Linked DNA regions of Homo sapiens: all the other regions are linked to region 1. The links are contacts of gene promoters, found by promoter capture Hi-C in human tissues and cell types (Jung and others, 2019). All regions are on one chromosome and are shown on one strand. The core of a region is centred on a gene start or on the middle of the fragment in contact, and the rest is flanking DNA. Distances in the headings are between cores, read along the strand shown. Region 1 holds the start of VIPR2 (vasoactive intestinal peptide receptor 2). Region 2 overlaps VIPR2 (vasoactive intestinal peptide receptor 2). Region 3 has its middle 110 kb from the start of VIPR2.

Region 1 (2,894 bases), core at 238-2,737:
ATTACAGATGAAAGATAGGCAAATGATAGATGATAGGTACATAATAGATGGATAGATCATAGATAATAGATGACAGGTAGGTGATAGAGGAAAGGTGGATGATAGATGATAGGCGCATGATGATAGATACCTGACAGATGGATAGATGAAAGGTAGATGATGGACAGGTAGATGATAGATGACAGATAATAGATGACAGATTACAGATAGATGATCGATAGGAAGATGATAGATGATAGGTACATGACAGATCGATAGATGATACGTAGATGATGGATAGGTAGATGATAGATAATGTGGATGATAAACATCAGATGATAGAAAAATCGATATCTGTGAATACGGGGGGTGGGGGATCAGAGAGAAGCAAATGATAAGCCCAATGAGGTAAATGTTAATGACCGAATCCACAAAAAGGATAAAAAGGAGTTATTTGTAATATTCTTATTCTTCTAATTTTTGTGTAAGTTTGAAATTATTTCCAAATAAAAAATTAAAACAACACGAACTTAACTTGTATCTCTCATTCCAGTGCTTTCCACTTGCTGGGGAACGCCGAGCTCTCCTGGGTTGGTCACGCGGGCGCCTTGGGAGGCCGCGCAGTCCCGCGTGGGGCGCGGCGGGGCGGCCCCAGTGGCACCGCGTGAGTCCCCGCCCAGCGTTCCCCACCCGCCGCCGCGTTTGCGGGGAGAGAATGACCCCCGTTTTGCAAACGCAGGACACAAAACCCGCCACCCAGCTGAGGCTGGGACCCACCTATACCCCCGTCTGCGTTTTTCTCCAGCTTTCTGTTCGACCTGATGTCCTCTTTGAGGCTGCGGGGATCCCCACCAAAAAGCACTCTGATTTTCTCCATTTTCAGATGCCCCAACCTAGCCCCACTGGCTACAAAGACGGCGCGCCCACCCCGGACGGGTCTCTGGCCGCTTTCTTGGGCTTCCGCAGTTGTTTAGAAAGGCAGGTACAGGCGGCCGCAAAGGCATCCGCCCCTTCCGAGCGCACACCTGGCCCGGTCCTCCTCTCCCGGCCCCGCGCCGGCCGCTCTCCCCCAGTTCTCTCTACTCGGAGCCGGGCGCGCACTGAGCACCCCGCTTCCCAGCCCCTCCGCCCACAGATCGGGGAGGCGCGGCCGGGAGGGGGGCGTGGGCCAGGGAAGAGGGGAGGAGAACGGAGAGAGAGGCTGGGGGGGTCGAGGAGACCAGAGGGAGCGCGCGCGGCGGGGACAGAGAGCCCAGGGGCGAGGAGAGGGCGCGGGGCGCAGCGGAAGGGGAAGTGGGGGGCGGTGAGGAGGGGCGCGGAGCGGGGGTTCTCGGGGGAGGAGGGAGACGAGGATTGGGGCAGCGCGGGGCGGGGACAGGGGCGGGGGGCGGAGCGGCGGGGCGCGTGGGGGACGGGCGTGCATTGAGCGCGCTCCAGCTGCCGGGACGGAGGGGGCGGCCCCCGCGCTCGGGCGCTCGGCTACAGCTGCGGGGCCCGAGGTCTCCGCGCACTCGCTCCCGGCCCATGCTGGAGGCGGCGGAACCGCGGGGACCTAGGACGGAGGCGGCGGGCGCTGGGCGGCCCCCGGCACGCTGAGCTCGGGATGCGGACGCTGCTGCCTCCCGCGCTGCTGACCTGCTGGCTGCTCGCCCCCGTGAGTGCGCCCGCGACCCCCGCCCCACGGCGCCTCGGACCCGGTTCTCCCCTTCCGAGAAGAGCGCTCCTCCCGCCGGTCTTCGCCTTCCTCCCGGGTGCTGGAGCGCGGGCGGGGTCCGGGAGAGGGAGCGGGGTCGCCCGGGGTCCGGAGCTTCCTCCCGGAGAGCGTGAAGCGCTGAGCTCCGGTCCCGCCGGGTTGCGGGACTCGGGTTGGGAGGCTGCCTGCGCCCTTCCCCGCGCCCCACCGTCCGGGGTTTGCTGGAAACGGGATCGTTTCTTCCTGGACGCGTCAACGATGAGCTCGTTCGGGGCCGTCCCGGGAGCTGGGAGCTGCGGGCGCCTGCGCGGGCTGCGCGTTTCACGGGGAGATCGGGGTTGGCGTTGGCCGCAGATGCCTCTCGGTCCCTCCCTGTACTTACTGGTTAGTTTTAGTGTCGGGGGGACGTGGCGTCGGTTAAATAAAGTTTCCTTTTGGAAATAGTTGCTTTTTCCCAAGGGCACTGGAGGAACTAACTGCTCATAAGTTTGTTGATTAAGTGCCTTCGCACATGGAGTTCTGAATTATTCCCTCTGTGAACCTTAAAAAAAAAGGAAAGAAAAAAGAAAGAAAAAAACCCGAGCCTTGTTTCTTGCTTTCCTCTTGGAGACTGAAGCGGGTTTGCGGTGCGCGCGGTTTTCGTGCGCGTCGCAGCCGAGGCAGGTCTGGATCGATCCGCGGCCCCTCCGCAGCTGGGAGGCTGCGCTGCTGACCCGACAGTGTCATTGATTAACCGGCGACGCCCGGTCTGCAGCGGGGCTCGAGCCACACTCCCTGGCCTTGCGCGGAGGCGCAGCTCGGCTTTCCTCCCTCGAGGGTGGGCGCTTTGCGGAGCGGGTCCTTGGAAAGTAACGGGTTTTATCACGGTTAATGCTGCTTTCATTGCTAAAATGTCCTAAAAGAAGTCATTGCTGTGCATATTCCAGGAACGTCAGGTATTATTAATGTCTTTTACACTTTAACAAAGTTTTTCTTTTTACATCAATATAATTTCCTTAATTCTGAAATTTAAGCCACTTACTTGTCCTGCATGAAAACAGAGGACTTGGAGCCCAAAGTCAGTGCCTGGTGCTGGTTCAGTCACGAGCAAGAAGCAAGCTCGGGGCTCTTTTAAATGGGGCTGAAGGTGGCAGAAGTTCCAGCATTGTTTTCCCCTTAATTCTGTTAGGATATTGTGTTCCTGGTTGGAACTCTCATTGACCATTTCAATAGTAAGATAACT
Region 2 (2,700 bases), core at 167-2,666, 69 kb after region 1:
AAAAAACTAAACCAACGATATTCTTACTCACCAAAGATTATCCGTGTCACATGAACTTAAAAAACATTTGAGTAAATTCCTGTTTTTCTGAAAGTTTTAGAATTACTTATACAAGTGCTTATTTTTCTTTGAGCCAATTAAATAGAGCTATTTTATACATTAATTTTGGAAATGCCATCCAGAGGTTAAAAAAAAATACACATGTCATAAAGATAGAGATAGACAGAGATCTTACAGCTTCCATTTAGAAATTTCAGTCATGTGTCTGGTACAATAATACAAAACTTGCTAGTTTATAAAAGAACAGCTGGATCCAAATTGTGTTTCTGGCAGACAAAATAATTTGCTCAAATGGCTAAAGACTTTTTTACTAAAGATTTTTCATTTGTGCACTGTAAGGATACTTTTGGAGAATCAGTTTGTCTTTTAGAAGCTTCTGCATAACAAAGAAGGCATTTCACTGTCTCTGAAAAGATGAAGATCCTCTGTCTTCAAGGGCACCCCTAAGCTGATCTATCTTACTTATGGACTTACACGATCTACAAGCAACATTTTTGTTTTTTTCTTTTCTAATATGTAAATGTTAAAGGTTCCCCAAAGTGGCCATGGCAGTTCCAAATTATCCTTTTTTAAGTTTACCCATTTTTCCAAAAACGCACAAGATCCTGGCCCACGGAGGATTTTGGACCAGGTGGAACCCATCTTTGCCTTAAATTACCCAGACATGAACAGCTGTTCCAAAACAGTTCAGCTGTTTCTTCCACTTCTGTACAGAACAGGGTGACCCACCAAGAAGGTTCAACAAAGATTACTCAAGAAAATGGGCAAGCTCAACACAAAGGGTGTGGAGATTGGATCCTAGAGACTTACCCTGGACTTCCACGGCCCGTGAGAAAGCAGTAAATGCAGTAGGTCCTTGGGTGCCGGCCCTGGGCTACTCGCTGATGCAGCGGGTCCATGGGTGCCGGCCCTGGGCTACTCACTGATGCAGCGGGTCCGTGGGTGCCGGCCCTGGGCTACTCACTGATGCAGCGGGTCCGTGGGTGCCGGCCCTGGGCTACTCACTGATGCAGTGGGTCCGTGGGTGCTGGCCCTGGGCTACTCATTGATGCAGTAGGTCTGTGGTGCCAGCCCTGGGCTACTCCCTGATGTGGCAGGTCCTTGGGTGCTGGCCCTGGGCTACTCCCTGATGTGGCAGGTCCGTGGGTGCCAGCCCTGGGCTACTCCCTGATGCAGTGGGTCCGTGGGTGCCAGCCCTGGGCTCCTCACTGGCCTCAACCCTCATCAGGGGTCTTCTTTGGTTCCCACTCCTGACACTAAAAATATGATATGAAGATTTTATTGAGTGAGAAACAAACTGTTTGCAAATAGGGAGACTTCAAAGCCAAAACTGGTAAGAAGCTTGTCTCATGGTTACAGCAAGGTTTATATGCTATGAAAGAGGAAGTTCATAAGCTTAATTCTCATTGGTTAGGTTGAGTAAATTACCTGGGTCACTAATTGGCTACAATGTGCTGAGGTGTTTCAACAAAGAAATAAAGCTCAAAATTGGTTTACAGTTTAAGTGGGTAAATGGACATCTGTAGATTTTGAGCTGAGCTGAGGGTAGGCCATTGACTCACAGGCAAAGGTCAGTTCTAGCCTCCATTTTTATTCTTATTTAACAGTGGTAATGGGAGGATCCTAAACTTTTCAAAAGCATCTGCAAAGGCCACATGTAGTCATGTAGTCTAAGGCTAACAGAACAAGAGGTTTCTTAGCCTGTCTTTACACCAAAAGCCAAGCCAAGCTATTTAAATATCAGCTAAATAAGGTATTCATTGAGTTCACTTTTCATAGACATAGAGACACTCCTGTTCCAAGTTACCTGTCTCATGGCACCTCGAGCATAATGGGTACCCAGTTTTTCCTACATGTTCTTTGGTCTCTTTCTATTGGCTTCAGAAAAACGAGTTCTTTTTTTATCTGGGTTTTTGTTTGTTTGTTTGTTCATTGTGACAGAGTCTCACTGTGTTGACCAGGCTGGTCTCAAACTCCTAGCCTCAAGCAATCCTCCCACCTCAGCCTCCCAAAGTGTTGGGATTACAGGCATGAGCCACTGCTCCCAGCCAGAAAAACAAGTTGTTATAGATTTCTAGTCATAAGAACAATTTTTAATAGTATATTATCTTAGTCTATTCACGTTGCAGTAACCAAATATCATAGGCTGGGTGACTTATGAAAAATGGAAATTTATTTTTCAAGCTTTGGAGGCTACAAAGTCCCAGATCAAGGTGCAGCCGATTCCTTGTCTGGTAAGGCCACATTTCCTCTCACGATGCTCCCACACAGTGGAGGGACAAGGGGCTCTAACCCTGTTCATGAGGGCTCCACCCTCACAAACTGATCACCTTCCAGAGGCCCCACCTCTTGATACCATCACCAAAAAGTTAAGTTTCAACATAGGAAATGGCGTCCTGAGCAAGCTGAGTCTTTCACACAGAAATGGGTCTGTCTCCCTTTTATTTGGATTTCTCTTCTGTTGCTTGGGGAAGTGCTTCAGTTTCCTCACTTTAGGCCCAGAACATTTTCCGCTCAGTTTATTCCTAGATATTTTACACTTTGTGCAGCTCTTTTGAATGAGGCCTGATTAAATTTACTTGATAGTTTTACTGATTATTTCTGTTGACTTCTCTTGATTTTTCTGAGTATGGACTTACA
Region 3 (2,700 bases), core at 167-2,666, 110 kb before region 1:
AGGAAGGGGAACATCACACTCTGGGGACTGTTGTGGGGTGGGGGGAGGGGGGAGGGAATAGCATTAGGAGATATACCTAATGCTAAATGACGAGTTAATGGGTGCAGCACACCAGCATGGCACATGTATACATATGTAACTAACCTGCACATTGTGTACATGTACCCTAAAACTTAAAGTATAATAATAATAAAATAAAATAAAATGAAAAAAGAAAAGAAAAAAAAAGAAATCATCAGTTTGCCATAGTATCACACATAATTGTGTGGTCTTTGAGTTCAAATCTCGGTTCCATTATTAAGTGCGCCATATGATTCTGGGAACTTACCCCACCTCTCTCAGCCTTTGGTTTTCTCATGTATAAACTGAGTTACTAAGATTGTTCAGAGAATAAATAAGAAATTTATATAAAGTACAGTGTAAATACTCAGTAAATTGTTCTTGTAACTGTTTTTTTCAAATTATTGTTACTAGAAACTGGACAAAATAAAAATATACATAACATAATTAATTAGTATAAGTCAGAATAGAAACGCTCTGTCCAGTTCTTCAAAACCAACCTCACCAGGCTGAGAGTTCATTTGATTCAAGTCCCTGAGTTCACAGTGTTACCAAATGGGTTCCATTTGCCCACATGTAATGGAAAGCCAAATACTGAAGCACTGGATTTTTGCAGCAAGAAGGGTTTTTACCAAGCAGCCGAGCGAGGACACAGGAGTTGGGCTCAAGTGTGTCTCCTGAGTCAGGGGTTGGGGCAGGTTTTATGGTCAAGGGGTAGTGAGGCATCATCTGGTTGGGTCTTGCAATGAGGTGGTGCTGGGAAGTGTGGTCTGACTGGATCCTGCCATGGGTTATGCCAGGGTTCGATCTGATTGGATCCTGGATCCCGCCATGTCGTGTCCACTTCTTAATTCAGTCCCCGCTCCTCAGCCCAACCACTGAGGTTATGCCCATGTTGCACACTGGGTTCATCTGGGCACGCTCAAGTTATGTGACCTTCAACTTGGGGGTCTGTGGAAACTAAAAAATAATTCAAAACTTAGTCGCATAAAAGTTGAACCAGATTGGTTTAGTTACAACAGACCCAGCCAGCAACTCCCTTTGAAGACTCCCTGGCTCTCTCCTGTTTCCACTCCAGACCCTCTCAGTTCATTGATCTCTTTTCCCCCCTTTTCACATCTGCCAGTTTTTAACACATTGATCACTTTATCTGCAAACAATTCTGTCTTTCCTCAGGAGTCATATTCGTAAGTCTCAGGGACCTTTTGGAAAGATCCTTTTTGGTTTTCCTATGTGGTGTTTTGGTGGCACAACTCCTTAAAACACAGTATTTGGAGCTTTTCCCCACCTCAGAGAGTGGTTTGAATAAAGAAAACTTGATAGATTTCTAGGAGGACAAATCAAACAGCCTTGAGGCAAGCTGTAGTCTGTAACTATCAATCTTTTCTTTTTCTTTTTGAGACAAGGTCTCGCTCCCTCACTCAGACTGGAGTGCAGTGGCTCAATCACAGCTCAGTGCAGCTTTGAAATCTTAGGCTCAAGCGATCCTCCCACCTCAGGCTCCCAAGTAGCTGGGACTACAGGTGTGCGTCACCACGGAACTAATTTTTTTTTTGCTTTTTTTGTTTTACTTCTTGTGGAGACAGGGTCTCACTATGCAGCCCAGGCTGTTCTCAAACTCCTGAGCTCAAGCGATCCTCCTGCTTTGCTTTCCCAAAGCGTTGGGGTCATAGGCGTTCGCCACCCTACCTGGCCATGAGTCTTATTCATCTGAGATATTTTGCATGGTTTATTCCTCTTATTGATGCTTTTCTTTGTATTACATTTGCATGTAGGAGGGCTAAGTTTAATTCTAAGTTTATTATGCAGAAGATTTGGTAAATATGAAGGTCCCTAAGTAATTTACTTTAGAGAGTTAGTTTTTTAAATTTACAAATTTCAGGCAGCAATCCAATCTCATTTTTTATTTAGTTCATTTTCGTATTTGGAACTCTTTCTCTGTTTGAATCAAGTGAAAACACACATTTCCACAATTTCTGTTTATACCGTTTACATACAATGTTAAGCCACTGGAACAATGCATTTGTGCCGATTATGCCTTAAAACAAAATAAACATAGAAGAGTTTATTAGCTTTTGATCACATGGCAAACTATATTTTGAATAATCACATAATGATTTTAACATTTCCAGAAGCATTCAAAAACCTATGTCAACATCTATTTTTGAGAGTCACAGAAAGCTTGAAAATAGGTGTAATAATCTCTCTCTTGCCTGCAGGCAAGATTATACCCACATTATCCCCAGTAAGTAGTTGTGGCACTATGGAAATTTTTTTAAACTGCTTTTATATGTAATGTAAGTATTTACAACAGAACTCCAAAAGTAAAAAGGAATAAAAGATAATCATGTTATTTTTGAGGGGCTGCTGATGAGTCTTATTTCCCCACCCCCATTGACTGGAAGAATTTTGCTCATTTTGGTTTTATTTTTTCCTTCATACTCTCCTCCTCCTTATGGGTCTGATTATTTTTTTCCAAGAAAACTAATGATTCAGGAAAAGGAGTGACAGTTTGAGGGCAGTTAGACGGCAGTGATGAAGTGGGAGGGCCGTGGTGCCGGCACAGGGAGAGCTTTTGTGGTCCCCACAGTTCCAAAGACCGCTGCTTCCCAGGAGAGCCTATCGTCCCTGCCGTCCACA

Evidence for each region. The method cuts DNA at HindIII sites, captures the fragments that hold promoters and counts their contacts. A contact is called where the count stands out against the background at its distance.
Region 2: a contact is called between a fragment that was not itself captured here and the fragment with the promoter of VIPR2 in region 1, in 5 of the 25 tissues and cell types used here (H1 embryonic stem cells, dorsolateral prefrontal cortex, ovary and 2 more).
Region 3: a contact is called between a fragment that was not itself captured here and the fragment with the promoter of VIPR2 in region 1, in 3 of the 25 tissues and cell types used here (H1 embryonic stem cells, dorsolateral prefrontal cortex and spleen).

The regions. Positions count from the first base shown.
Region 1 is chr7:159,143,460-159,146,353 of GRCh38, reverse strand. It overlaps VIPR2 (vasoactive intestinal peptide receptor 2), which reads left to right and starts at 1,487. Exons shown (of 13, transcript NM_003382.5): 1 at 1,487-1,633. The coding sequence starts at 1,583. The HindIII fragment of the contact is 14,641 bases long and covers 1-2,894 here.
Region 2 is chr7:159,074,116-159,076,815 of GRCh38, reverse strand. The region is part of intron 4 of VIPR2 (vasoactive intestinal peptide receptor 2); the gene reads left to right. Among named protein-coding and RNA genes, the nearest start is that of LINC00689, 67 kb to the right of the region's middle. The HindIII fragment of the contact is 3,943 bases long and covers 1-2,700 here.
Region 3 is chr7:159,255,652-159,258,351 of GRCh38, reverse strand. No RefSeq gene overlaps it. Among named protein-coding and RNA genes, the nearest start is that of VIPR2, 110 kb to the right of the region's middle. The HindIII fragment of the contact is 7,606 bases long and covers 1-2,700 here.